Regions from separate parts of the Homo sapiens genome. Here regions 1, 3, 4, 5 and 6 are each linked to region 2. The links are contacts of gene promoters, found by promoter capture Hi-C in blood cells and fetal thymus (Javierre and others, 2016). All regions are on one chromosome and are shown on one strand. Each heading gives the region's core, a stretch centred on a gene start or on the middle of the fragment in contact. The rest is flanking DNA. Distances are from core to core; before and after follow the strand shown.

What was found. Contacts are between HindIII fragments. The CHiCAGO score rates a contact against its expected background, and 5 or more counts as called.
Region 1: a fragment that was not itself captured here is called in contact with the fragment with the promoter of HS1BP3 in region 2 in 1 of 17 cell types (fetal thymus); the score reaches 5.3 in fetal thymus.
Region 3: a fragment that was not itself captured here is called in contact with the fragment with the promoter of HS1BP3 in region 2 in 1 of 17 cell types (M0 macrophages); the score reaches 5.7 in M0 macrophages.
Region 4: a contact is called between a fragment that was not itself captured here and the fragment with the promoter of HS1BP3 in region 2, in 1 of 17 cell types (naive CD8 T cells). The highest score is 5.1, in naive CD8 T cells.
Region 5: a contact is called between a fragment that was not itself captured here and the fragment with the promoter of HS1BP3 in region 2, in 1 of 17 cell types (naive CD4 T cells). The highest score is 5.8, in naive CD4 T cells.
Region 6: a contact is called between a fragment that was not itself captured here and the fragment with the promoter of HS1BP3 in region 2, in 1 of 17 cell types (M0 macrophages). The highest score is 5.6, in M0 macrophages.

What each region holds. Positions count from the first base shown.
Region 1 is chr2:19,957,177-19,962,182 of GRCh38, reverse strand. WDR35 (WD repeat domain 35) reads left to right here. Exons shown (of 27, transcript NM_020779.4): 11 at 1,569-1,629. Among named protein-coding and RNA genes, the nearest start is that of WDR35, 30 kb to the left of the region's middle. The HindIII fragment of the contact is 2,030 bases long and covers 2,742-4,771 here.
Region 2 is chr2:20,648,688-20,653,793 of GRCh38, reverse strand. HS1BP3 (HCLS1 binding protein 3) reads left to right here and starts at 2,696. Exons shown (of 7, transcript NM_022460.4): 1 at 2,696-2,762. The coding sequence starts at 2,731. LOC105373466 (a long non-coding RNA gene) reads right to left here and starts at 2,512. Exons shown (of 2, transcript XR_001739320.2): 1 at 2,442-2,512; 2 at 1,594-1,819. RefSeq lists enhancers at 2,278-3,015, 3,100-3,249, 3,270-3,349 and a silencer at 2,430-3,019. The HindIII fragment of the contact is 7,312 bases long and covers 1-4,167 here.
Region 3 is chr2:21,242,386-21,246,930 of GRCh38, reverse strand. All of the region lies in intron 1 of LOC105374317 (a long non-coding RNA gene), which reads right to left. Among named protein-coding and RNA genes, the nearest start is that of TDRD15, 120 kb to the right of the region's middle. The HindIII fragment of the contact is 337 bases long and covers 3,059-3,395 here.
Region 4 is chr2:20,042,627-20,047,424 of GRCh38, reverse strand. The region is part of intron 1 of LAPTM4A (lysosomal protein transmembrane 4 alpha); the gene reads left to right. Among named protein-coding and RNA genes, the nearest start is that of LAPTM4A, 6.6 kb to the left of the region's middle. The HindIII fragment of the contact is 940 bases long and covers 2,629-3,568 here.
Region 5 is chr2:19,995,396-20,000,007 of GRCh38, reverse strand. MATN3 (matrilin 3) reads left to right here. Exons shown (of 8, transcript NM_002381.5): 6 at 2,749-2,874. It overlaps WDR35-DT (WDR35 divergent transcript), which reads right to left. Exons shown (of 3, transcript NR_110235.1): 2 at 731-802. Among named protein-coding and RNA genes, the nearest start is that of WDR35-DT, 7.5 kb to the right of the region's middle. The HindIII fragment of the contact is 260 bases long and covers 2,674-2,933 here.
Region 6 is chr2:21,330,063-21,334,564 of GRCh38, reverse strand. The region is part of intron 2 of LOC105374318 (a long non-coding RNA gene); the gene reads right to left. Among named protein-coding and RNA genes, the nearest start is that of TDRD15, 210 kb to the right of the region's middle. The HindIII fragment of the contact is 1,237 bases long and covers 1,925-3,161 here.

The sequences.
Region 1 (5,006 bases), core at 2,507-5,006, 690 kb after region 2:
AAAATGGAATTAACAGATAAAAATAAAAATAGAAACTTTATTTTTCAACATAAGCTCCATCAAGGTCAAGACATTTTTGTAAGCAATGATAACAGATATTTAGTCCATCCCTAAAGAACTGAGGGTCCTGGGAATTTAACCATGTCAATGCAGTCTTTTTTACATTATTAACTAAAGATAAATGGGTACCCTTTAAGGATTTTTTAAGATTAGGAAACAAAAGGAAGTCTGGAGCCAAATCAGGACTGTAAAGTGGATGGATGCCTAATGATTTCCCGCCAAAACTCTAGCAAAATTGCCCTTGTTTGATGAATAGAATGAGCAGGAGCATTGTCATGGTGGGGAGAGACTCTGGTGAAGTTTTCCCAGGCATTTTTCTGCTAAAGCTTTGGCTGACTTTCTCAAGACATTCTCATAGTAAGTGGACATTATTGTCCTTTGGCCCTTCAGAAAGTCAACAAGCAAAATGCCTTGAGCATCCCCCAAAACTGTCGCCATGACCTTTGCTCTTGGCGGTCTGCTTTTGCTTTGACTGGACCACTTCCACCACTTGGTAACCATTGCTTTGATTGTGCTTTGCATTCAGGATCATACAGGCAAAGCCATGTTTCATCTCCTTTTGCAATTTTTGAAGAAATGCCTCAGGTTCTTGATACCACCTGTTTGAAATTTCCATTTACTGCTCTGCTCCTGTGTGCAGCTGATCTGGGTGCAACGGATTTGGCACCCATTGAGTGGAAAGTTGGCTTAACTCAAATTTTTCAGTCAGAATTGTGTGAGCTGAGCCAGTTGAGATGTCTATAGTGTTGACTATTGTTTCTGCTGTTAATTGTTAGTCCTCTTCAATTAGGGCAGAAACAAGATGAGATTCATTTTTTCCTTGCAAATTGACATGGATGGTCTGCTGTTGCAGGTTTCATCTTTACTTTGTCTTGTCCCTTCTTAAAGTGAGTTGTCCTTTTGTAGACTGCTGATTTCTTTAGGGCATTGTCCCCATAAACTTTTCATAAAGGATTGATGATTTCACCATTCTTCCACCCAAGCTGCACCATAAATTTGATGTTTTTTCTTGCTTCAATTTTAGCAGAATTAATGTTTCTTTGACAGGGCTTTTTTTCAAACTGCTGCCATCTCCTTCTTAGTGCTTCAAACTAGATCCTGTTCAAACATGTTTTAACAAGTTAGTGCACGTTTATTTTGATGCAAACAATTTTTAAATCCATGCTTATTTTTTCCATAATACACATTTTCCATAAACTTTTTGAAGACCCCTTGTATAAATGATGAAAAGTAGCCAGAGTACTTGTGTTTCTTGTGTCTTCTTAAAAACCACAGTGTTCCATTACATTGAGAAAGCAGCCTTGGTTTAGTATTAACTGATCTTTCTTTATATTTAATGCTGTAAATCATCTTTCTTTTTGTCTGCTATTTTTTGCACGTAACAGTTTCATCAGTTATTTCCCAGTTAGCAATACTTGAAAAAGAGATAAGCATGATATATATTAAGCATATTTCCTTTATTATTCATAAGCAGGAGTTCTGATACTTTTTGTTTTATTTGTTCACAGTTTGTACTAGTTCTTTGTAATTCTATTGGTACACCCTTGGATCCCAAATACATTGATATTGGTAAGGAAATGTTGATATTTATTTCTTTTCCAATCAGGTTTTATTTGTAACACTAATTTAAAAACCTAACACTGGTATTATTAATTAGAATGGTGTTTTCTAAAACGAGGATGACCATACTTCCTACTTTGTCAGATCCAGTACCAGTTTATATCTGTTACCATGGTAGAATTCTTAATATCCCATTTTACTCTCAAAAGTATCCTGGTTAAGACAGTAAATTATAAGGTTAGTCTATCTAAAATCCATTATAATTTCACAACTGCTATAGTACCATCATTCGCTTTAAATGGGAAATATAATTGTGTAGGAATTGGTATGCAGCGTAATGATTAGTATGTAATAAACTGAGGATTATAGAAAGAATTTTGCTATTAAACCACTTTCATTATTAATAAACTGCTTGTAAATACCTCTCTTCCATAAAAACACTTTGGCTGCTTGTAAAAGTGAGTTTGCCCTTTCCAGATTTTTCTAATGAAATGAGTCTATTAATAGGGACAGTTTTAAAAATTCCTGACTTTTTGTTTTCAAAGGACTTTTGTTACTTTAGATTTACTATTCCCTCTACCCAATAACTATGAAAGTAACCCATTAAAAATTCCAAATCTTATTCTAAGTAGATTATTAAAAATCATTAACAAGTATTTTGTTGCCATTTCACTGTAACTTCCAAAAGTAATGATTTTCTTTTAATGTGTATGGTAGTATATTGGATACAGTATTGTAAAAATTATTAAATCTAAGAAATTAAAAACCCATTGCATTATTCCTGAGAACCTGAGAACTAGTCATTTTTTTTTCATATTGGACATTTAGCCTAAGCAATTAAGTATTAATGCCTGTTGCCTTTTGAGTGTTTGCATTTTGCTAAGTGTTTGTTGAAAAAATTGCTAAGTGTTTGGGTGATAATAGCAAATATGAGAAATAATGACCTCAAAGACTTTATACTCTATGGCTTAGGGTCTTGATAACCTACTCACTTAGATATATTGACACATTTCAACTTCATGTCTTACATTCATTGCTACATAGGCATGTTTATATGTTTTATATGTGTATATATTTATATACACATATATATACACATTAGTGTTCCTTGTTAAAAAGCTTAGCTTAAAATTATTAACAGACTCTCATCACATAAATATCTCTTGTTTATTAGAAGCATTAACAGTCTTTAAGAGGTAAATTTTGTCAGTCTTCAGATTATATGCTTTTTCTTTTAATATCCAAAGTTTTAACATAGAATCATAATGGTGATAGGGTTAATGTCAAAGTAATTTTTATCACAAGTAGACTGTTTTTTTAAAATAAAGCTAAATGTAAATCCTTCTTCATAAAATGGCAAATACTTGAGAGCATGACTATTTGTATTTTTGAGTCTCAAAACTTTTTTTTTTTGTAGTCTTGCTGACTGAGATTTTAACAAACAGTTCTTTCATTGGCCTGCAGTGAACACAGCCAAAGACTCAACATTTTTGTTTCATACATATCCTGTAAAATTTCTTTTTTAAAGTTTCTATGCCAAATGTTTATGAGGACTAGAGGCTAAAATAAAAAAAGTCTGTGAGTGATACTCTTCTAGAATTTATTATTTTTGTTTTGCCACCTACTCTTCCTCTTTATAATTTTTGTAGAAACTTTAAAATGAACTTTATAGATTATTATAGAAGTGTAGTTTGTGGGACTCTGTTATACTCTACACATGAGAGTTAGGTATCCTTTTTTGGTGTTCTTTTCTTGAGCACTCATAATACCTTTGGTGTGCTTCCATCCAAAATACCTCTTAACCTGCACTGTGGTTACTAATTTTCTTGTCTATCTTCCCCACTAGACTTTGAACTTCTTAAAGATCTACGTCTAATTAACTTCTGTATCCCCATGACCTAACACTGCCTTGGCCCATAATAAATGTTTATTGAATGCATGGAAATTATTTATTTTCTATCATGTAAATAAAAAATGATGATTCATTTATTTAGCAAACTATCAATGAGTATATACTGTTTCAGGTACTGTACTGGTCACTGGGAATAATAAGAAATTAATTATGACATTTCCTGTGGGATTTCTGAACAAATAATTAAAACCTAGTTAATTCATTGAACAGTGATTTATTGCTTCCCTACTGCGTGCTAGGTATTGCTCTAGGTGCCAGGTAAATGGTTATTGGTGCATAAGGACATCAGAGACATCTTTCTACTTAGAGAAGGTTTCATTTGAGCTGAGTTTTGAAAAGTAAGTATTTCTTTAGGTGATATTTCAAGGAAAGAAAACGGCATTTGCAGAGGAATGAAGGCATGGAAAGTGGCCATCAAGTACCAGTTTGCCTATGCTGCAGCCATTTTAGTGGGAGCACATGGGCAGCTTTCTAATGATGGTATCTAACACGTGCACTAGGTTTTCCATATATTTTAGAGAAAGTTAATTTGATGAAAACATTTCAGTGAAATTTCAATTTACCAGCACTTGAAAGGGCTGAGAAATGAATAAATGGGAAAGTGGGTGAACATTACAGATGTAGGCATTTATTTCATGCCTTAGCATTAAAATATTACAAGCAGGTTTTATTTATATGTGAATTCCAAGATTGTTTTAAATTATTTTACATCCTTGCTTGGCTAGTAATGACTGCCTATTAGCATTACAAAGTTCAGTTAATGAAAGCATAATTATTTTCTTAAAAACTTTTTTTCCAAGCTGGGCATGGTGGCTCACTCCTGTAATCCCAGCACTTTGGGAGGCTGAGGTGGGTAGATCACCTGAGGTCAGGAGTTCAAGACCAGCCTGGCCAAAATGGCAAAACCCCATCTCTACTAAAAATACGAAAATTAGCCAGACATGGTGGCATGCACCTGTAATCCCAGCTACTTGGGAGGCTGTGGCAGGAGAATCGCTTGAACCCAGGAGGCAGAGGTTGCACTGAGCAAAGATCGTGCCACAGCTCTCCAGCCTGGGTGACACAGCAAGACACCGTCTCAAAAAAAAAAAAAATCCAATAACCTTTCTAGATATTTCAAATTTTTTTCTTTTCAGATATTGAACAGTCAAAAAGGGCATGGAGGGCCTTCATCTTGGCTGTGTTCTTGTCCTAAAACATTGTATCTGTTAAGATTTTGTTTTGCTTTTCCTAGAAGCTTAGTCTAGATGGGATGAATCTTAATAAAGATCTAGCAAAATATGTATAGATAGGATTATCTACCCATATGAATTTGCTGAAATTACCACCTTACTGATTCAAAAGAACATATTTTTCAGATATATTTCTATTTTTTGTAGTAACTGAGAATTTATATATGGTTTTATTATAAAATCCTATGTAGGTGATAAAAGTGAAAAGAACAATAGCAACCATGTCTAACTAATACTTCTTA
Region 2 (5,106 bases), core at 1,447-3,946:
AGTGACTTCCTGGGTGGAAACTGAGGCCTGGAGTGTTCCTCCCAGGGCAGTGAGAAAGAGAGAAATAGAAAATCCTTTGCAATGTGGTTTGTGTTACCGCAGCTTCAGCCATGGAAGGGGCTCCTTGAATTAAACAGGAAGCAGAAAATATCAGATTTAGATCCCACATTCCATGCATTGTATACAATTACGCGCTGGAGCCATAGAGGGGCACGTGGGACCCACAGAGGCAGAAAATGGGATTGCTGTTGGGAATGGGGTCGTTCTTTCATGGGAAACCAGTTGCATTCTTGACAGGTGGGCCGAGTCTTCCTGAGGTGCACACTTCACAACCCCAGGGGCACAGGTGAGGCCCTCTCATTTGCTTACAAGGCATTGGTGACAGACATGCTACCAGCTCCCACAATGATGGAGAGTCCCCTTCTCTGCAGCCCCCCAACACCGCTGCATATCTCTGGATTGTAGACCATCCTTGGTGGGCTCACCCCAACTCTCAGGCTCAACAGCCTCCTTTTTACCCATGACTCCTATGTCAGTCTCCAGCCCAGGTCGGCTTCCTGAGGCCCAGGGCCATAAACCCAATCGCATCAATAGGTCCAGCCCTTCAAACACTGCCTGTCTGAAACAGAACCCATCATCCTACCAAAAATATGCTCCTTCTCCAGGTGCCCTGCCACAGAGAATGATACCAATGTCCAGCCACTCACAAGAGCCAAACCATAGTGGTATCTTATCTCTTCCCGCCCACACCCATTGGATTCCCAAGTCTTGACCAACTCCTTCTCCTAAGGCCCTCTTACCCGTCCCCTCTTCTCCACCTGGGTGGCCATCACCCTAGTTCATGGGACCATTGTCTCTTGTCTGGATTGTTCTGCAGTCCAGCTCATCTTCATACCTTCAACATGCTCCAAAACCCTGCCCACGCCCTAGCTGGCCCAGCCACTCCTATGTCCCTGACCCTCTGATGGCGCTGTGTTGGCCTCAGGATCAGGCAAAGCCCTGGCCTTGGTGCACTAGGCTGTCCACACCCTGGCTCCTGCTGGCCTCTTCCCCCTGTTCCCTGGTGTTCCTATCCTGTCGCTAGGGCTTTGCACGTGACATTCCTTCTAATCTATTCTATCCATATTTCTTCAGGTTTTCCCTTGGACTTCAGCTCCTTTAGAAAGCCTTTCCAGACCCCCACCCACTCCCCATGTAGGAGGGCAAAGAAGTCCACTGAAGGCATCTAAAGTGTCTTATTCACTGTGTTTCTGTCTGTTGGATAAATGTGAGTGCAATGGTGACTGCTCGACTGCCTGGCACTACACTCAGACTCCTGGAATGCTGAAGCCTATACTGCTTTCTGTCCAGACCCTGAACTCCCTTTCTCTAAAGTAGGGCATGCCAATTTAAACAAAACACGGAGGACCATTTGCAGCCATGAACACGGCCCTGCAGACGGACAGGCCGATGAGCAGCAGAGCAGACAGGGGTTCCCGCCATCATCCCAGCTCTTCACTGCAGCCTTCAAGGGTCTCCCTCAGAACTTTCATTCATTGTCATACTTCATTCATGATTGCTCATCTTGCCTATAAACAAATCTGAGACAAATAATAAGGCATATCAATGTCCGTATTTATTCAAGAGATACATTGGGGAAAGTCATTTTTCAAAATCTTTTACTGTAGGATTTCTTCACTAAAATCTGTAAAAACTGGTAGATATTGTTGGTGATGCTGGTGGCGGTGGTTGATAGGCTCAGGAAACATGGCTGACATCGCCCTGCCGTGAATTCTGGTATAGTTAAGCCCAGCTTCTCTTTCTTTTTGTCACTGGGGCTCTGGGTGGAGGGAGTAACAGAACAGGGGCAGCAGTTTGCACCTTCTGCTGGCCCTGTTTGCAGACTCAGCTTTTCTTTCCCTGGGCTACGTTGGCAGGTGATACGATCTCTCTGTTCCTCACCCCATGGAGAGGTGAATCTAAAATGAGTGGGTCTGTTAGGGTCTGCATGTCTGTACGTTCCCCTTCTGAGGGGAACTGGCTCCTGGACCCCGTTGCCCTGCTCCAGCTGGGGACCCAAGTGCAGCCATCCCAGGCAGGCCCGGCCCCGGGAGGCCTCCACCAGGGCTCTGCCAAGCAGCAGAGGCTGCCTCTCTAAAGATCCCCTGTCGGGAGAGTGCCTGCCATTTATGGAGCGGGCAGGCAGTAGGAACCAGATAGGCGAGCTAGCTGGAGGCAGCAAGCTCAAGGGGACTGGGCTGCTGCGTGGCGTTCACTGTGCAGCTTGAAGAAGACCCCACGAAGCCTGGACAGAGCCCCAGCTTGGTAAATATTTGTTGACCGATCGGTTGAATGAAATGGTCTTGGGGCAGAGGGGGAGTGGTTTTGTAATGGGGACTGGCGGCGGAAACAGCAGAGTCCCGTCTCTCTAACGGCTAAACTTTAGCGCAAAACAGACACACCGATTAAGGTTCACCGTGTGCCAGGGCCAGGCTGGGCTTCTTCTAGGTGGTTGCGGCGGGCGCGGCTCAGCCTGGGTGCTCCGGAAGCTCCGAGCAGCGCAGGCCGACGGCGACCGTGCGGGACCCGCCCAGCCGCGCTTCCGCCCCGCCTCTGGCCACAGGCGCGAACTGCGCGGCCGCTGCCACCAGGGGGCAGGCCAGGGCAGCGGGAGGCAGGGCGGGGACGCGGTGACGCGGGCACTGCCGGGTCCCGTGACTGCGCGCCCCGCCCGGAGTCCCCGCCGCCGTCATGCAGTCCCCGGCGGTGCTCGTCACCTCCAGGTGAGCCAGACCCCCGCGCCCCACACCGCACAGCTCGCAGTCCGGGGCGCCCGGGCGGAGAGGCGGGGGGAGGCCGCCGCCTCCTAGGCCAGGGACCTGGTGCAGGTCTCCCCAGCGCCCTCGGTGGCTTATCCGGGCTGGGCCCCTGCACCGCCCTGCAGGAGAGGTGGCGACCCCGATTTACAGATGAGGAAACCGAGGCCCTCTGGAGGGTAGAGAACTAGCCAAGGACAGCGGGAGCCCTGGGACTGACTGGTTCAGTGCAGGCGGGCGCAGTGGGGACTCTGCTCTCCTTTCCTACCGCCTTGGGTTCTTCTCTTTTGAGCCCGAAAATCTAGTTCCCCATCCTTTCAGAGCTCCCTGAGTCCCAGGCCCGGTGCTGGGCACTGGGGACAGAGGCGAATCAGACAAGCTCGCCCTGCAGGGGGCTGCAGCGGAGAGGGGGTGATGCCAGCAGCGGGTAGTAAGCTCAGGTTGCCATGGGAACACAGTACAGGGCAGGAACCCGGTTTCTGGGAGGATGAGTTTGATGAGAGACCAGGGAGAGGTCGTTGCTGCTTGCGAGGCAGCTCAGGAGAGCGCAAGTTACAGCAAAAGCCTTGGAGGGGTCCAGGCGGAGGATGCAGAATGGGTCGGCCCTGATCGAGACCTGGAGGACCCAGCCCAAGGTGGATCCTGGCAAGGCTGGGAGGCACGTGCTTTTACTTCTTTCCGCCTTTAAAACGCTGTAAAGTGATTTACTTCAAATATTTTCATACACTTCACCCTTGCTCTCCCTACACAAAGTCTTAGGCTAAGATGCCAATTTATGACATAAATGAACGTGTTACCCAGCCAACTGTTGATCTTCCAGTTGTAATCAGGAATTCCCCGTGACTTCAGGTCTAGAAAGGTATGATTCCTTTTGTAAACCCTGATGTCGGAGGCTGCTTGGTCTTTCATGATCAAGTGTGGTTACAGTTGTATCTTCATGGGCAGAAGAGGTTTCCCTACTGCCACTTACGTCACCTCCTCTCACCAAGCCTCAGTTTCCTTTTCTGTGAATTGGAGGTTTCAGATTGGCAGGCATGAGCAACGTCAGTAGTATATGCCCCTCAGCCATGTGCAGATGGATGGGGTGTGACTTTGGTGCTGGGTGCTTGGGATGGGGTGGGTGGCTTCCCTCCCTGCCCCGCTGCACAGCCTGGACGTGGCTTGTTAACAGATGTGGGGGCGCTGGCGGTGGTAAGGCCACATGAGTCAGGCTCATTTCTTGCTGAGGGCACCAGCACACCCAAGGATCTTGCCTGCAGGGTGAGTCCAAACGCCTTAGCCCAGCAGCAAGGCCGGCCCTTCCCAGTCGCACCCCAGCTCCTCTTTCCAGCCCGATCTCCTCCCACATGTCATTGCCACATGCACTCAAGCTTGAATTCAGCCAGAAGGTGTTTATCGAGAGCCTTCTCTGTACCGGGTACTGGCCCTAGTTCTAGGAGACAAACAAGTCCCTCTCGTAGAGCTTTAATGAGGGCACAGGCCCAGTGGGCAAATCTACGACATGTCAGGGATGATACATGCTATGAAGGAAAACAAAACAGTGGGGGCAACAGAGTGGTAGGAGGCATGCATGCTGTTTTCTATGGTGTGGTAAAGAGGCATCTTTCTGATGGAGTGGCGCCTGGACAGATCCCGGACAAGCTCCATGAGGGAGAGAGCCATGAAAAAGAAATCTTGGAAAAGTGTGTACTGGGAGGACAGGACAGCAGGAGCCAGGGTCCCGAGGCTGGTATGCTGGAGTGGAGTGAGCCCAGGGAGAGTGTTAGGTGATGCGGTGAAGAGGCAAGCTTGGGAGTGAAGGATGATCAGGAAAGGCCGAGAAGGCTGTGGAGGGGCCATCAGATTTAATTTCAAGTGCAATAGGGCCCAACTTCTGGTTTATAGAGATCCTTTGGCTGCTATGCTGAGCATGGGCAGTGGCCGAGCTGAGCATTCAGGACAGGCTTGTAGGTTTCCATGTAGAGCCGGTGGTGGCTTGGCCCGGGGTGATGGCGGCCGTGAGGGTGAGAAATGTTTGGGTTCTCGATATATTTTGAAGATTGAGCTTTCAGGTTTGCTGATGCTTGGATATGGGGTGTGAGAACAAGAAGAGAAGTTAAGACTAACGGCAAGTCTCTCAGCCTAAGCTGCTGGAAGAATGAGGCTGCCCTTTAGCAGGCTTGGGGAGAGGTAGAAGCAGCATTTGTGTAGACAGGTGAGTTTTGAGAAGCTCGTTGACAGCCCAGTGGGGATGTCAGGCAGCTGCAGCTGGAAGGAGGCTGGCTGTGAGGGGAGAGTGAGCTAAAGATGGGAGTTGGGGAGCCATTGGCTC
Region 3 (4,545 bases), core at 1,978-4,477, 590 kb before region 2:
TGAGTTCTCATGAGATCTGGTTGTTGTAAAGTGCAGCACCTGCCCCTCTCCACTCTCTCTTGCACCTGCCCTGGCCATATGACGTGCCTGCTCTCACTTTGCCTACAGCCATCAGTAAAAGCTTCCTGAGGCCTCCCTAGAAGCAGATGCTACTGCTGTGCTTCCTGTACAGCCTGCAGAATCATGACCCAATTAAACCTCTTTTCTTATAAATTACTCAGTCTTGGGTGTCTCTTTATAGCAAAGCAAGAATGGCCTAATACAGGGGACATGGAACATATGAAATCATCAAGTGACCACAAGGTAATACATAAATAATGCTAGACATAAAAGAAGTATGAAAAGCTATAGGAGCTCATAGGATGAGCACATCACTCCTGTAGGGACTCAATGAAGGTGCACTTTGATAGGGCATTGAAGGATAAGCAGGATATAAACAGAGACAATGAAGGGCATTCCAGGAAGAGGTTATGGTTGAGAGAAAATATGCTTGAGCCATGGTTGGGAAAGATACAATCAGAATCTCAGATTTATTGAGCAACAACCCTGTTGTTTCTGATTTTCTATTAAAAGTCCCTGAAAACCCTACAGGCTTCTCTTTTCTTATTACCATTGACAAGGAGCCATTGTAAACCTACCTATCTTCCAGACCCCAGTGATGTACACATCTCAGGTTCTATATACCTCCATCTTCGTGTTCTTCTGCCCCAAAATGGCTTTACAGAACAATCATATGTTTTCAGGTATATTTTGGTGACACATGAGTCTCAAGTACCCCAATGATGTAGGCCTCCCATCCCATCCCAGAGGCCACCTGATCCCTATAGGAAAGGGATACCTAGGGCATTTCTCCACATTTTTTCTATTACTCCCGTTCATTAGAATCCTACACGTCCTATGTGTTACCTGCTCCTTTAAGCCTCTTATGTCTCTAACGGGACATATATCTCCTTCCTCTGAATCTCTATAGCCGCTGCTTCCTCTTCACATTCTGTACTGTGCACTCAGTGATGTGAATTATGTGAATGGCTTACCCCCTCCACCCCACAGGATATAGGGAGACCAAAAGGAAAGAGCCCATGTGTAATCATGTCTCTCAGGGCTGACTGACACGTTTGTGCTCTCACCCTTGTGAGTTTTAACAAGCAATGTCAGGGCTCTATCATAGACCATGGCAAACCAGCATGAAAGGCTCTGCTTATCATAGGAAGCCAGATGAACTTTTTTTTCTATAAGAGGATGGAGGCAGGAGAGTTTCTGAGCCCAGGGGAATCACAACAAGGGAGATCAGTAGCATGAGTTTGAGAAGCAGAACTCTGTCAATCTATCCACAAGCAAAGTTAGCTTGTCCCTATAAGAAACTGATGATCAGATACATTGTGCACTTTCCTACCAGCCAAAAGAATTGGCCTGCCGCTGTCTGGTGTTTTCAAGGCAAGCTCTCACTTTCTAAAGAACGAAGGAGCCAAAGAATGAAGAGATACCAGAAGTAGGGATTTAAGGGCTGCTCTGGAAATACAGATCCAAGAGAACCACTAGGTAGTCAGTGCATTCATGGAAGTAGCACCTAACTCTGCTTCCTTCTGTAAAAGAAGGGCATTTTTCTGGTCCAATATGGCCACAGATAGGCAGTGAACTAACTTCAAGACTCATTGGTGCAAATATTCTTATTATGAATCTCTGGGATTCCTTCAAATACATTTCTTCAGGACCCCATAGGTTCTAATCCAGTTGAATTGACTGGCCTCTTCCCGCTAAAAGATCTTCCTTACTATATCAAATTGACCACATTATAAGGTGTCAAGATCGCTAGAGTTAGGCATCTTGTCCCAGTCCTCTCTGTGACCCTCAGTGTCTGACCCTAAGGAAGTGCTCACCAAAATAACTGGGAACTGACAAAGCAAATTTCTCAGTGAAAAAAGAAAAAAAATTTGGGCTAGAGATCCTATAAATCCTTATTGAAAATATATGCAGAAGAGAGTTGTGCCCTTAAATAATCATTATGCATTATTTTTATGGTGTTATGATTTCAATTTCTTCAAATGAGAACATTCCTTTTTATTATAAAAGCATGCTCTTTATTTATGTAAATCCAAAAGATACTGACATATTTAAGGAAGTGAATACAAGTGCCCTGGAATTCCATCCTTCAAAGACAATCAGCACTAACACTTTTTTGCTGTTTCTATGTAGTACTATATTCATACATATTTTTGAATGCCTATACACACATATTCTTAAAATGAGGTCATTCTCTTTATACTATAAAGCTGACTTTCTTAATATAATATATTGTGGGCATGTTTCCATGTAGGTACACAAATAATTACCTTATTTTAGACAGTTTCAAAGAATTTTATCATATAGATGTAACAATTTGTTTAATCTCTATAAACAGGTGTTTAGGTGATTTTCATTTTTTGTTAGCAAAAACATTGCTACAAATAAACACCTTTTGCATAAATTCTTGCACGCTTGAACAGTAATTTCTTTAGGATTTGTTTCTAGAAATAGAATTGCTGAGTAAAAAGTGATGTAAATTTTAAATGTCAGGTCTTGCAAAATTGTTCTCTAAAAACTGTGCAATGTGTATTTTCAAACCAGAAGTTGAAATGCCTGTTTGCTTACACCCTTATCAACAGTGGATATTATCAATCCTTTAAATCTTTAGCAAGACAATAAGTGAAAAGTTATATATTATTGTTGTTTTAAATTACATCTTTGACTATGGAACATTTTTTCAGTTGTTTATTGGCCTTTTTGTACTTTGATAAATTACCTTTGCATGTATTTTGCTCATTTTCTCTTGGGTTGTTCATCTTTTCACTATTGACTTGTAGGAATTTTTTATGCTTTTAAAATGTTAACTCATTGTATGGCATATTAACTATATATGGTTCCAGTTTATGCCTTGTGGGTAGTAGATACATGATAAATATTGGTTGACTGAATGAATGAATGTTATAATTTGTCATACAGAAATTCTAGATTTTATGAAGTCAAATTTGTGTTCATTTCCTTTGTGGTTTCTGGCCTTGGTGCCAAGCAATGAAAAGCTTTTCTACTGAAAAGATTAAGAGGAAATGTTCTTCTCATAATAGGATTTCTGAAAAATTTAATATTTAATCCAGCTGAGCTTTATTAATGTGTAAAATGGATTTCTTGCTAACTCAGGCCAATTCTTCCAAGATCATTGACTAAGAAATCAACATTTTTCCATTGATTAGAAGTGCTAGCTCCATCATATATAAAACTCTAATATAAACTAGGCTCTGTTTGTGAATTTTCTCTTTTCTTTCATTTATCTACATATTCCTATGTCAGTACCATATTATTGCCACCACATTTACTTCGCAGTATACTGTGATATCTGGTAGGGCATATCCCCCCAAGCTTTTTTCCAAAAATTTTCTGCCCATTATTATTTAAATTTTCCTTCAAGAAGAAAGTAAAAGTCAATTTGTCAATATTTTAAACACTTGAAAATGGTATTGAATTAGCACTAAATGTATAGAATATTTTGGCCAAAATCAACATCGTCAGAGTAGTTTTCAACTAAGGAAGATACACAGATTTTTAAAAATCAGCTCTCCACAAATTTGCATGGCTCTGAATGTATCAATCATTTTTAAGCTAATTACAATAAAGTCTAATTATTACCATTAAATTATTATATCCATTTGACATCAAAGATTGAATGCTAATTATAAAACAAATTTATTCTACATTGACATTTGTTTCCAGTTACTGGATGACAGCTTTGTTCAAATATGACACCTCGTTGAAGACAGGTCCTCTAATAATTAAAATATTTGTGACCTCCCTAACAGATAAAACTTCCCCCAAGAGTGGGCCCATGATGGGAGGTATACTTTCAGGTACAGGTGATTATAATAGCAGTGATGATAGGATTACAGAGTTGTGCATATTTATAGTGGGCACACATGGGTAACATCTGATCAGTTTATTCAGTCTTTCTAGAAAAATGAGGCTTATGGGGAACACTGCCAATATCTAGGGGAACAATGTTGGGGTTTTTGTAGGCTATTATGGTCCAAAGTTAGACCCATCCTGAAGTTCTTTTATTCCTTCCCTGTCTAATGTGCATTAAGATATTAAGCAAATGGGAAAAAAAATCTCTAAAATACAAATTGAATGAAAGTTATTTCTGCTCTATAAAACCTACCACATAAAGAGGTGTGCCTTGCATAGTTAAAAATCCTACTGGAGAGACTAGATTTGAGTACCAGAATTAAGAGACCTGTGGCATTCCTCACTTTAAGATTATCCTAAAGTATTCAACCCTCTCCCCCTTGCCTATCTTATATCTGTAATGAAAGGAAATTCAACAGGGAAGGAGGTCCCAGAGAGATTTTGCAAGTAGGGGCACAGACATGCAAAGTTTTAGCAGTAAAAATAAACAAGGCAAATATGTAATCAGTGGCTTCCAGTTGGGAAGTAATGAAAGATAAAAATTGAAATACAGGATAATGTATAATCACAGATAGACATGAATCTCAGTCAAATAACAAAGGAGAAAACGGT
Region 4 (4,798 bases), core at 1,849-4,348, 610 kb after region 2:
GCCACCGCGCCCGGCCTTTTTTTTTTTTTTTCTTTTTTGAGACAGAGTCTTGCTCTGTCACCAGGCTGGAGTGCAGTGGTGCGATCTCGGCTCACTGCAACCTCCGCCTCCCAGGTTCAAGCGATTCCTCTGCCCCAGCCTCCCAAATAGCTGGGACTACAGGCACCCGCCACCATGTCGGGCTAATTTTTTGTATTTTAGTAGAGACGGGGTTTCACCGTGTTGGCCGGGATTGTCTCGATCTCCTGACCTCATGATCTGCCTGCCTTGGCCTCCCAAAGTGCTGGGATTACAGGCGTGAGCTACCATGCCCAGCCAAGCTTTCTTTACTTCCTAGCCAGGGGGATCTGTTTTTCTCACGGTGCACCTGCAAAAGTTTCTGGATCCTTCTTGTATGTACTTATTAAATAGTACTCAGTACACATTGGTAGGATTGTCCTTTTCTCTTATTTTTCTCTCTACAGCAAGATGTTCTCCTGGAGGGAAGAGGGTGATGTCTTTATAAGGGCAGTGGCTCACGCCTGTAATCCCAGCATTTTGGGAGGCCAAGGCAGGTGGATTGCCCAGGAGTTCGAGACCAGCCTGAGCAACATGACGAAACCCCCTCTCTACCAAAAAAAAATATATATTATATTATATATATATTTATATATTATATTATATATATATTTATATAATATATATTTATATATAGATATATAATATATAAATATATATAAAACATATAAAAATATATATACACACACACATACATACATATATATATTAGCGGGGCATGGTGTGGTGGTGCATGCCTGTAGTCCCAGCTACAGGGGAGGCTGAAGTGGGAGGATCACTTGAGCCGGGGAGGCAGAGGTTGCAGTGAGCCTAGATCGCAGTAACTACTCTCCATCCTGGGTGACAGAATGAGACCCTGTCTCAAAATAAAATGTGTGTGATGGCTAACTTATTAATTAAAACATTTGAGGTGTTCATTACACATTTGTTGAATGAATGTCTCCTCCAAAAAATATTGTGAATACTCAGTTGTATCTGCATGTAACAGTAAACAACAACAAAAAACTTTTTTTTTTTAAATTATACTGTAAGTTCTAGGGTACATGTCCACAGCGTGCAGGTTTGTTGCATAGGTATACATGTGCCATGTTGGTTTGCTGCACCCATCAACTCATCATTTACATTAGTTATTTCTCCTAATGCTATCCCTCCCCCAGCCCGCCACCCGCTGACAGGCCCTGGTGTAGGTGTGTGATGTTCCCCACCCTGTGTCCAAGTGTTCTCATTGTTCAGTTCCCACCTATGAGTGAGAACATGCGGTGTTTGGTTTTCTGTCCTTGTAATAGTTTGCTGAGAATGATGGTTTCCAGCTTCATCCATGTCCCTGCAAAGGACATGAACTAATCCTTTTTTATGGCTAAAAAACGTTTTAAAGATAGTCAATTTTGATCTTTATCAGATAACAGGCTTTGCTTAGTTCTGTAGATTGACCCTCCTGTGGGTGCTTTCTCTGCATGGGAAGCCCTTATCTGGATGCCTCCTTAAACCAGACACACTGTTTTAATTATTATCTCAGTAGATACTGGCTCTGGGCAAATTACTGTGGGAAAACTGAAAAATGATTTTTTTTTTAAAGTCTCCAGAGAATCTTCTGGAATAGGTGTGGCAGTGAAAGAAGAAAACAAAGAATTCCTCTCTTCAGGCCCTGTGCTTCCATGGATCTGATACAGTTATTTTGTAACAAGTCAAATCTAACAGATTTCTTATTGTACACACTTACATAAGATGTAGAAGCTTTCAAAAACAATGCACACCACCTGATTTGACTGATTAAATTTACAGTACTGTTAACACATTGAGTGGTGAATCCGCAGCCCATGCTGCTAAAATATTGCTGCATTCTATACCTCTCCATATTGCCAAGTTTAGAAGTTAATAATTTAATCTTTTTTTTTTTTTTTTAAAGAGATGGGGTCTTGCTATGTTGCCTGTGCTGGTGTGCAATGGCATGATTATAGCACACTGCAGCCTTGAACTGGGCTCAAACAATCCTCCCACCTCAGGCACCTGACCAGCTGGGACTACAGGCACACACCACTGTCCCCAGCTTAATCATTCTTTTTAAATTACATTTTTATTAACTTTCTTTCCTGAATACAGTGAAAGGAAAAAGTGAATCAGGAATAAATATTTGTAATAGTTAGTACATAGTTGGATATTTTCAGAGAAATTTTGTATTGTAAGATTACAGTTAATTTTATGTATTTTTTGAAAAGCTAAACATGTAATTTAGAAATATCAACTTTAATCAGAGATAAGTTGCCAGGGCTTACATGTGAGCACAAGGTAGGCGTTCGTTGGTGAATATCTTTAAGATCAAAGGATGCCAGGAGCGGTGGCTCGTGCCTGTCATCCTAGCACTTTAGGAGGCCAATGCAGTAGGATCACTTGAGGCCAGGAGTTCAAGACCAGACTGGACAACATAGTGAGACTCCATCTCTACAAAAAAAATTTTTTTAAGTCACAAGGATGGGTTTTCCAGTGTAATACTTTAAGATGTAAGTTGGGGTTCTAATGAAATGATGTGATCTAATGGAATATAATTAACTCAAAGAAGATTTGGAAAAAGCTTTTAATGAAGTAGCATTGAAATTTATTTCACTGTTTCTTGGTCCTTCTGATTGGCCCTACGATTTATTTTGTTTAATATTTAGTGGTATGACCCACAGTGAAATTAAACTTGAAGTGTCTCTAGTACTAAAAGAAGATAATAGTGGATGAGCGTGTGACTTATCCATGGAAGAGAAGAAAAGTGAAGAGTTCTTTTGTTTTTTAAGAGACAGACTTAGTATTGTTGCCTAGGCTGGTCTCCAGAGCTCAGGCGATCCTTCCCACCTCAGCCTCCCAAGTAGCTGGGACTATAGGTGTGAGATTTTTAGAAATCCTTCATGTAATAAAAATATTTAAGAAGGGAAAATAGAACTCCTAAATGTTTTTGGCATGTCATTCCCTTCATTTAGTAATTGGGTTTGCATGCTTTTCTTGACAAAGGAATTTCTGTACCGCAGAGAGCTTTTTCACTGTGACTATGCTGTGTTTAGCAAAGAAGAGTTTGCCTAATTGATTTCAAACTGATTTCCATACACAGAACATATAACGTTTTAGTAGATATATCTGATAGTTCAGTAATTAATTCACCTAGTTGTATTAGCTCATACTCATACACCACACACGCTGGCCAAAACCCATTGCAGCAAATGTGGGCAACAAAAAAAATCAGCTTTCAACTGGGGAGAGCCACCTTGCAAAAGTGATTGTTCCTGGTAAGTCCTCTCAAGAATTGAAAGATATCATGCCTTGCCTCTGAACAATGCAAGGAAAGAGGCTTGCTGCTGAACATAGACAGTAAAGTCTAAACATTTTATAGCCTTAGATAATGGTTTCTTTGGGAAAGACCTTAAAATAGGAGTTACTGGGGAATGTTTATTAATAATCACGTAGTGCTGAGAAGGAGGATGTCTTAAAAACCAGACTTGTGTCCTGATTCTCCCATCTGTCAGCTCAGCAAGCTTAACACAAGTTATATAGCTTTACTGAATCTTAAGTTTCCCCATCTACACATAGGCTTTGGTAATACTTACTTCACGGGTTGTTGTGAGGAATAAGTGAAGTAATACACGTAAATACACATGTCATAAAGCATATCCTCAATAAATATTGGTTGATTCCAAATTTCATATTGTGGCATTGTTTAGATCACCTACCCTAAAATAAAACTTGATCTGCTTATCTAGCGGATGTTAGTGAAATGACTTCAGCTGATAAAAGGAAAATGCATTTCCTGTGTGTTTATCATTCAAGGTGAAACAGGAGAGAAGTATATAATAGTTTGTTTAAAATACTATCGATAGCTGGCCGACACAGTGGCTCACACCTGTAATCCCAGCACTTTGGGAGGCCAAGGCTGGTGGATCACTTGAGGTCAGGAGTTTGAGACCAGCCTGGCCAACGTGGCGAAACCCCACCTCTACTAAAAATACAAAAATTAGCCAGGCTTGAATGGTGCACGCCTGTAGTCCCAGCTACTCGGGAGGCTGAGGTGTGAGAATGGCCTGAACCCAAGAGGTGGAAGCTGCAGTAAGCCGAGATCGTGCCACTGCACTCCAGCCTGGGTGACAGAGCGAGGCTTGGTCTCAAAAAAAAAAAAAAAAAAAAAGGTCCCAGCTACTTGGGAGGCTGAGGTGTGAGAATTGCTTGAACCCAAGAGGTGGAAGCTGCAGTGAGCTGAGATTGCGCCACTGCACTCCAGCTTGGGTGACAGAGCAAGGCTTGGTCTCAAAAAAAAAAAAAGTCCCAGCTACCCCGGGGACTGAGGCAGGAGAATCGCTTGAACCCAGGAGGTGGAGGCTGCAGTGAGCCGAGATTGCGCTACTGCACTCCAGCCTGGGCGACAGAGCGAGACTCCATCTCAAAAACTAAATAAATTAAAATACTACTGATAGGAACTTAACCCTTGAAAATTCCAGATGTTCACATTTTCACAAAGGGAAGGAGGGCAAATTCTGTGAACTTTACTATGCTAGATAAGGAAGCCTAACTCCAATCCTACGTGAGATTTCTGTCTTGAGTCGTTAACAATACTCTTTCTGAGTACTTAAATGCAGTGAAGCCTCCTGGGATACCACAGGGATTGGCCAACAACTACAGGCACAACTCATTTCCTTTTAAAATGGATTTACAACCCTGGGAGACTAGGAAAATTCAGATATTATAATGGGATTTCAGCAGGCTGTTCCTCTAA
Region 5 (4,612 bases), core at 1,554-4,053, 650 kb after region 2:
AAGACTTTGTGAATGCCTGAATTAGACCCACACAGATCTTCCAGTAAGTTTGAGGCCAGTCACTCCCTGGCAGTTTCTAGACGATCAATCATTGGTGAAACTCAGCCTTATACGTTGGCCAATGAGCCCAGGCCAGTGCTGTTAATCCTCATTAATTTGATTTAAACTTACTGGCAGGACAGGGTGGCATTTATAAATGTAAAAACACTCCTGAGAGAAATTCCAAGCTCTCAAGGTGCCGTTTAGCTTTGGCATATTGAATGTGTTTTAGATTTGACATATATTTTCCTCTCCCTTGAGGACATACAGACTTCATCAAGATAGACAAAGGGAAATGGCATGTCACCCAGTCCCCTCTTTTTTTTTTTTTTTTTTTTTTTTAAAGGGAAACCAGTAAAAAAATACCGGACACCTACTTTGTTCCCAGTATGGAACTAAGCATTGGGAGCATACAAAGAAGCCTAAGTTTCTGCCTCTGAGCAAGTTAAATCTGGGTGAACAGAGAGCCGGCTCCTTATGAAAGCAGAGACTGAGCCAGGGAGAGGGACTGATGGAAACAAAGGGCTGTAGAGGCTGGGGAGGTGGGCATCTGCGAAGGGCTGGTGGTGGGCCTTGAAGGAGGGTGAAGGTTTCAATGGAGACAAGTGGAAAGTGGCACTGGCGGGGGACTGGCTTGAGCTGATTTGTTCAGGGCAGGATGACTAAGAAAGTTGGGGTGGAGAGAACTCACCTATGGCTGCACTTCTCAAACTAGTGACAAGTGTCCCAGTTGGTACTTTAAGCTGCCAGGAACATTGAAGACCTGGGAAAACAAACCAAAAACAAATTTCCATTTAAACTAACAGATAGTATGGAATAAAGTGAAGCAATCTATTTTAAAAAAAAACATAAATCAAAGAAAATTTTCAGTTAAGGCAGACAACACTCCCAGATGCCAGTATTCCATATTCTTCAATACCTACTGTAGGCCATGCAGGATTCTAGGCATTTTAGATACAGTAATGTACCTTAATACTCACAGCAACGTTAGGAGGAAACTGATTCAGTAACTTGCCCATGGTTACTCTGCTAGCAAGTAGCAGACCCAGGGTTTGAACCCAGGTACTTCCTCTAGTGGTTACATAGGCTCTTAACCACTAAGCCTTACTGTCTTAATGTACAAAGCACAGGACAGTGAAGAGGGACAGAAGAGAAAGAATACTAGTGGGAAAGTTAGTTATATATATATATATTTTTTTTTCTTCTCTTTTTTGAGACAGGGTCTCATTCTGTCACCCAGGCTGGAGTGCGGTGGTGTGATCTTGGCTCATACAGCCTCTACCTCCCGGGCTCAAGTGATTCTCCCATCTCAGCCTCCTGAGTAGCTAGGACTACAGGCACATGCCACCACACCTGGCTAATTTTTGTATTTTTTTGTAGAGATGGGGTTTTGACATTTTGTCCAAGCTTGTCTTGAACTCCTAAGCTCAAGCAATACACCTGCCTTGGCTTCCCAAAGTGCTGGGATTACAGGTGTGAGCCACTGTGCCTGGCCTATTTATATATTTTAAAGTAATAGTGAATACTGCTATAAAGCTGGGGAACATACCATGGATCAGATCCCTTCTAATGGTCTGCTTTTCCGTTGCTAGTGGTAGGAAGGCTTGTAAATTAAATGTGGAGCCCCAAATAAGGGCCAGGGGCTGGAAGCATGTCCATTTGCCACCTGTAGAGTGGGTACTAACCTGGAATGAGGGGGAAAAAAATGAAACACCCTGCTATAAGGCATTTTGCTGAAAAAAAAATCTAAATTGTAGCACTGAAAGGGAATAGCCATATTAAGGTTGGAAAGGCACTTTATGTATAGATTATATAGCGTCTCACATTTCACAAGAAGCTATTCTATAGGCATTAGTGAGCCACAAAAGGTTCTGCCCATGAAATGACATTTAAGAGGAAAATTAGAGGGAAATAAACTATTTTGGTTCCTGCAATGGCAGAGGAGGAACCTATGTCTTCCAGGAAGGCTTTCTGGATTTCAAAGGAGAATTACTGTTTTATTTGTCCTAGGCCAGTCTGAACATGGGATGAGTATGGCACTTTGCTCTCCTCTCCACTCAAATTTGGGCAAACTGCATTTGTCCCTGAAATGTTATTTGTGATAGATAGTAAGTACTTCACTCTCTAATCATACACATCATCATTACTAACCCTGTATCATTTCCCCATCTGTGCTTGTGTGTGTGTGTGTGTGTGTGCATGTGTCTCCTGGTCAGTCTTTTCTGTTACACTTTGTAAGCTATGAAGGCAGGCACTTGGTCAATATAGTGCTTTTTGTGCAGCATCAAACTTAGCTCCATGTATGATTAGGTCCCTAAAACATTACTTTTGGTGATGATGATGATGATCCATGAGTAGCTGGGGATGCTAGAAGCATTGATAGTCATCGGGAAAGGCTGGAGGTAAGTTCTGGAATATAGTCAAGACTCAGTGCTGCCCAGTGCTGTGGGTAGAAAAAAAGGAAAGGTACCCTTAGATATCTGTGAGAGATATAAAGGAAAGGAGTGTGTGTGATGTGAGGCCAAAGGGATGAGAGGTATGGGAAGAGAAAACAGGCTTGCTCCTGCAGCATGGGGCCTGTTGCTGACTACTGACTACTACATTCTCAGCACTTGTGGGGACCAAATGGAAGCTTCTCCTCTCAAACATTTGTGTTTACTTTTCTATTTAATGTGTGAATATTTTCTTTCCTGCACCACGTGCGGTCAGTCCGTGACAAGTGTGCCCTAGGCTCTCATGGTTGCCAGCACATTTGTGTGAGTGATGGGGCCGCATCCTACCACTGTGATTGCTATCCTGGCTACACCTTAAATGAGGACAAGAAAACATGTTCAGGTGAGGATCAGCCCTTTAAGGCTATTTCCTTTGGTAGGAAAATTTTTCAGGAGCAAGCTTTTTTCTTTCTGTCTAAGACACAGTTGTGATTCTTTCTCCCTGTCAGAATTCTCCAGTGGCTCCCACTGGTCTACAGAATAAAACAATGATACCCCTATACCAGGCAGCCTACCCTCCATGATCTGTTTCTGTCTTCTCTGTTTTTCACATTTTTCTTAATAACTAAACTTTCTGCCTAAGTCTGAATTTTTTTTATTGTGGTAAAATACACATACAATTTACCATTTCAATTATTTTCAAGTGTATAGTTCAGTGGCATTAAGTACATTTACATTGTTGGGCAACCACCACCAGTATCCATCTCCAGAAATTTTTTATCATCCCAAAATAAAAGTCTGTGCCGATGAAACAATAACTGCCCATCACCCGCTCCCCTCAGCCCATGGTAACTACTTCTCTCATCCTGGCTTTTAAAACTTTTCTACTACATTTGCCCCCAGATTCACTGCTTCTTCCTGCATCCTGGTCCAGCCACAGTGGGCTCTTTGATGGTCCAGGAGCATGCCCTGCACTCACTCATTCCCACCCTCCCCTCAATGCTTTTGCTTGTCAGAATTTGCTTGCCAACATTTGGTTTTGTTGAATTAAATTTTTGCCAATCCAGTGGATGTTTTTTTCATTTCCTGGTTACTAATGAGGTGAGGCATCTTTTCCTGGAGAGTACTGCCATTTTAACAGTCTTTCATTGCATTAACATGGTATGTCTTTAATTTAATTTAATTTTATTTTATTTTAGGTCTTCTTTAATTTCTTTCAAAATTGTTTTGTAGTTTTCAGTGTACAAGTCTTGTACTTTTAAAAATATTTATTCCTAACTATTTTATTCCTTCTGGTGCTATTATAAGCACCATTTCTCCATTTCTCAACTTTCAATTTTGCTACAACCCAGGTTTGAGAAATGGAGTTTGAGATCCATTTCTCAACTTTCAATTTTTCTACAATCCAGGTTTACAATTTTCTATGAAGTGTTGTAATTAAGACTATCCCACTGAACCCATGCCCTGCTAGAGCTTAGAGACTATCAGGCACGACAGACACTGAACAAGTATTATATATACCCATCTTATGGGTACAGGGATAATGGACATGTAGTTGATCTTCAATAGATACTTCCTGGTTTATTGACTGATTAACTAAGATGGGATTTGGACTGGCTGTCCCTAAAAGGTTCAATAGGATTCAGACAGGTGGATAGATGATAGATTATATTTAATGAATTTATGATCTCCCATCCCTATATTGGATCTTTGTAAAATGTTAAGAGTAAAAATGTTGCAGCAAAGGACCATTTCCTGTCCTCAGGCAATAGAATTACTCCATTGGAAGATGATACACCAGTCTTCAGACCTGGGAAGTTACTCTTATTTCTATTCACAACTTTAGGAGGAGCCCTGATACTGAATAGGAATAGCTGCCTGACTGAATTCCATAAAGAAATAGGAGTTACTTTTATCACCTCTCATATTTGGTTAAATGTCAATACAAACGTGAATTTTCAGTTCCAAAGTATTTATTGGTAAGAACTAGGACTCTTACTTCAAACCATTAAATAGAATAACAGTCCTCTAGAGGAAATCAGGACTTAACCTGGTTTTTATCCTTTTTTTTTGTTTTGTTTTTTGAGACGACATTTCAATCTGTCACCCAGGCTGGAGTGCAGTGGTGCGATCTCAGCTCA
Region 6 (4,502 bases), core at 1,294-3,793, 680 kb before region 2:
ATCTCACCTCCTGCATACCTTCCTTACTCATAAAAGCCCCCAGTTATATTCAAAGGCAGGTTAGATTTGAGAGTTTGCCTCTCTCTCCTGCCCTCACACTTTGGCAAAATCAAATAAACCTTTCTCTACTCCTAAGCCATGATGTGTCAGCATTTGGCATACTGCACATTAGGTACTCGAGCCTACCTTTCGGGGTTCTACCACACAATGATCACGTCCTTTCACGAAAGGAAACTGGGAAAACACAGCTACAGAAACACGTTGGTGGGGCTCTTACAGAGGTTGTTTGGGGGTTTGGGGGCTCATTTTATTTTGGAGGATTTCTGAAAAATCCAGAGCATGCTGTCTACTATCCCCTGAATATACAAGGCTCAACAAATAGGTAAGCTAATATTTAATCAGCATTGTGGTCTGTCATACGTTAATTACTAGTGATGTAAACATGACCTCCAAGCAGAACTCCAGTGGTTTAAAGCCCCAATCCAGACTGTTTTCTCAGCTTTAAAGGCCCTTTCCACTTCTTCTCTGCCTATCCCACTTATCCTTCCATGCCCAGGCCCCTTACTCCTCTTCCAAGAAGCCTTCCCAGCTGCTCAAGTCTACAATGATTTCCCTCTTATCTGACTACCAGGCAGGATTAACGTGACTTACAGCACCTGGCACCAATGTGCATCCATGTGTATGTGGGCGTGGGTGTGTGTAACCATGACACTCTCTCATAAAAAAAAAAACAAAACAAAACAAAAAAAAACAGCAACTAGCAGTGAGCTGGCATGCAGTAGGTCCCTAACTGAAATATATGAGTAGAAGGCAGTTGAAGATGGTGATTTGTATGTGTTGTGTTCAGACAATGTAGGAAATCAGTCCTTTGACAGCAAAAGAAGAAAAGAAAAAAAATAAGACGAATCTTCATGGTTTGCATAAAAGTGTAACTATTACAGGTGGCCCAATTCCCAGTTACTTTGTTCCTGACACCAGAGACCTGTTTTTCAATCAAAATTGCAGCAGCTGTGGAGCTGTAAGGCTGGGCTGGCACCTGGGTCAGAGGTTCCCCATTAGTGCTGGCAGATTTTTCATAATCAAGACACTTCTGAAATGCTGAACCCTACGCAGTGCCAAAGGTTAACGATTCAGTGTGCAGGGACTGAAGCGCAAAGCAGGGCATCAGACAGCTCGGAGAGTGACGCCACCAGTGGACCTGTTTTTGCTGCTCCAGTTACATTCTTGAATCTATTGGACATTTGCCTCCTTGCTGAAGAGTCATTCTGCAGAGAACACTCATTAAGCAGGCTGCATTAATCCTGTTTTTCTAACCCTGGTTCATGTTTATGCATTTGACAGTCAACATTTTTGAGCAGTCCCTCTGTACACCATTGAGTCTGGTTATGCACATGCAAAGAGAATTGGAGAGTGAAGGGGTCACCTGCTGAGTTCAGTGTAAACTGGCAATCTAGACAGTTTTGCATAACAATTACAACTTGCCTGTTGTTGCAAAATATTAGTGGTATATGAGAGACTACTTCATTCCACTTCATCCCCACTGATGTGTGCTGTTTCAGATCATGATTAGTGAGCAAAATAAACTAAAATTAATTTTGATTAAAATTTGGTGACATTCCTTAAGAAAACTGGTGATAACCTGTGGTGTCAGAGCTGGGGATAATTGTTTCAAGAAATCAGTCTCTCTATAATCCATTAAACTTTTATATCTCACTGCTTTTTTTTCCTTTCAAATAACATTACAGAGGATGTTTTATAAAACATATACAGCTCCTCGGCTGTTCTTGGATATCCTACTGTCATTTAAAACTCAATATATTCCAAAGAGAACTAGCCAATCCCCTACTTCCCCTGCCCCATATCATTTCTGGCCTTCTTTGTTTTTCCATTTCTACTAATGATTTCATTCTGTAGCTTAAAAGCTTCAATTTCCTTCATTCAAAATACCAGCTTAGCCTTTTAAGTCTAATCAAACTTGAAAAATGGTTCCTATAGAACAGGAAACATTTCCTATGCTATAGTATACTATAGGGTTCTCCAGAGAAACACAATCTATATATATTCTATCTGTAGCCTATGTATATATATCCTCTATAGACACACACGTGTGCACGCATATATATATTTATATCCTGTATATAAATTTTCTATATTTTATATGTATATCCTATATATAAAGAAATTTATTATAAGGAATTCGTTCATGTCATTAGGAAGGCCAAGTCTAAGATCTACAGGGCCAATGTCATAGTTTAAGTCCAACAGCCAGTAGCTGTGATAGAGCTGATGAAGAGCTGATGTTTCACTCAAAAGGCATTCAAACGGGCTAATCCTTTCATATTTGAGAAAGGGTCAGCCTTTTGCTTTATTCAAGCCTTCAACTGATTGGATGAGGCCCACCATATTGTGGAGGAAAATCTGCTTTAGATTAAGGTTAAGATTTTAACCTTAATCTAATCCATTAACACCCTCACAGAAACTCAGAATGTTTGACCAAACATCTGGACATCCAGTGGCCCAGTCACATTGACCCATAAAATTAGCCATCACAATATGGCTCGAAGAAGTAGTATTTTATCCCTTCTTCTTGGGTGATCTCAGAATTTCTTCTACACTGTTGAAGAGACTTGGCTAGCATTCCTGCCTTCAGTCTCTCTCCCTCTCTGCTCACAAGAGTACTTCCAGACTAGTCTTTGACATAATTGTATTGCACTACAGATAAATCACACTGACCTCTGACTTCCTGTCTCCACCTGGCTTCTGCTCCAGTTTCTCACTCCCAGAGACTTCCTTGATTCCAGCCTATAGTTTTTCTTCTTTTTTGGAGTTTTAGAACTTCTTGAAAGTGTGCTGGAAGCCAGGCCTTCCTTGAGTTCCAATGTGACCACCCTGTGCATTTAGTTTTCCAATATGAAACTAATATAGCAATATATATTTATTGTGGTTATTGTGTATATTTCTACAGATACTAGATATTTCTCCCTTTATGGTATATATTTCTCTGTATATATAGTCATATACCTATAGGAAAATACACAGATAAAGTCTGGAAACAAAGACCACTCAAATGAGAACAAGCAAAGATCATTCAGAGCTTGCTAGAGCAAGGACATTACTTCCAGTTCAGAGACACTAAAGGTAGGCAGTGGAGTATAAAAGCTTTATAATGAACAAAAAGGGAAGATTCAGATATGCCACTATTGGAGGTTTTTGGCATAAGGGAAGCTGGAGGTAGGCTCACTAGAATCAGGGCATCCTGTGTAATTGGAAAGGAGAGCGTATTTAGCTTCCCCTGGTTAGTTCTAAACTGGAAACAGGGCAAAAGATAGTGCAGCTGGCAGTTATTGATTCAACTCCTGACTGTTTGGGGCTGATTGCTACAGAGGTTGTGGTTTGTCCTTCTGGACTGATTGCTACAGATTGCGAGTCAGAGTTCTATTTTTATATACGGTCTGGCCATTCTCTATTTGTAAAATCAGTTTCTCAAGAGAGAGACGAGACAGAGAGAAATTCTGATGAGATTAAGATAGTATTAGATCAAGGCTTAAACCACCCAATCCTGTCCTAGAACACTACAATGTGAAAGGTCTCCGAGTGAAATAAATACATCCAGAGGGTAAGGTGCAGCTAGATCATACTGATACCTGATGTTTGGTCCCAAGCCCTAACATGTGGCTCTAATGAGCAAGAGGAAGGACTGTTTTTCCTTGTGCTGGGGAAACCAAAGGCCCTACCTTCTCTGCTTCTCCTAAGCCTGGATTGGGATCTTGCCTCCTACTACTTTAACATAAGGAAGGAGAGTCCATGCCAGGCTCCAGGCACCAGAGAGAAGGACAAAGAGAAAAAGATCGCAGGAGAGAATACTTCCCCAATGGCAACAGCTTCTGCCCTCTTGTCCATGCCTGCTTTCTCATATACCCACTTCTAGGAGGAGAAGAAGAAGAAATAGTCAAAGATACAAAGTGTCATTTTAATTCCGGCAAGACAAAAGCAAGAGAAGAGTCACCCATATCTGAGCAAAACCTTATAATTACACAAAGTTATTTTACTTCCTAATATATTACTCAATAAAATATGCCCAGATTTGATTCCGCCAGAGAGTCTGGGGTGTTTTAAACTCCCTCTTCACAAAAGCTAATATATAAATTAATTTTTGCAGTTTTTCTCTGTTTTTTTTTTTTTTTTTTACTAACAGCCCACACTTTTCCCTTGTCATTTTTTCTCTGAAAAGACAGTTTGTTAAGGTTTTACAGAACTACATTACAGAACTAAACCAAAATTTAAGCAATTCCCTACTATGAACATTTATGGTTTTTTTCCTAATTTTCACTATAAAAATAATGTAGTACTAGGAATCCTTATGCAATAGTCATTACACAAATCTCTGATTATATCCTAAAGAAAAATTCCTGGAAATGGAATTACTTGCTGAAAGTTCTGGACATTTTAAGAATACATATTCTTAAGACTTAATACATGCTTCCAAATTACCCTGCGAAAAT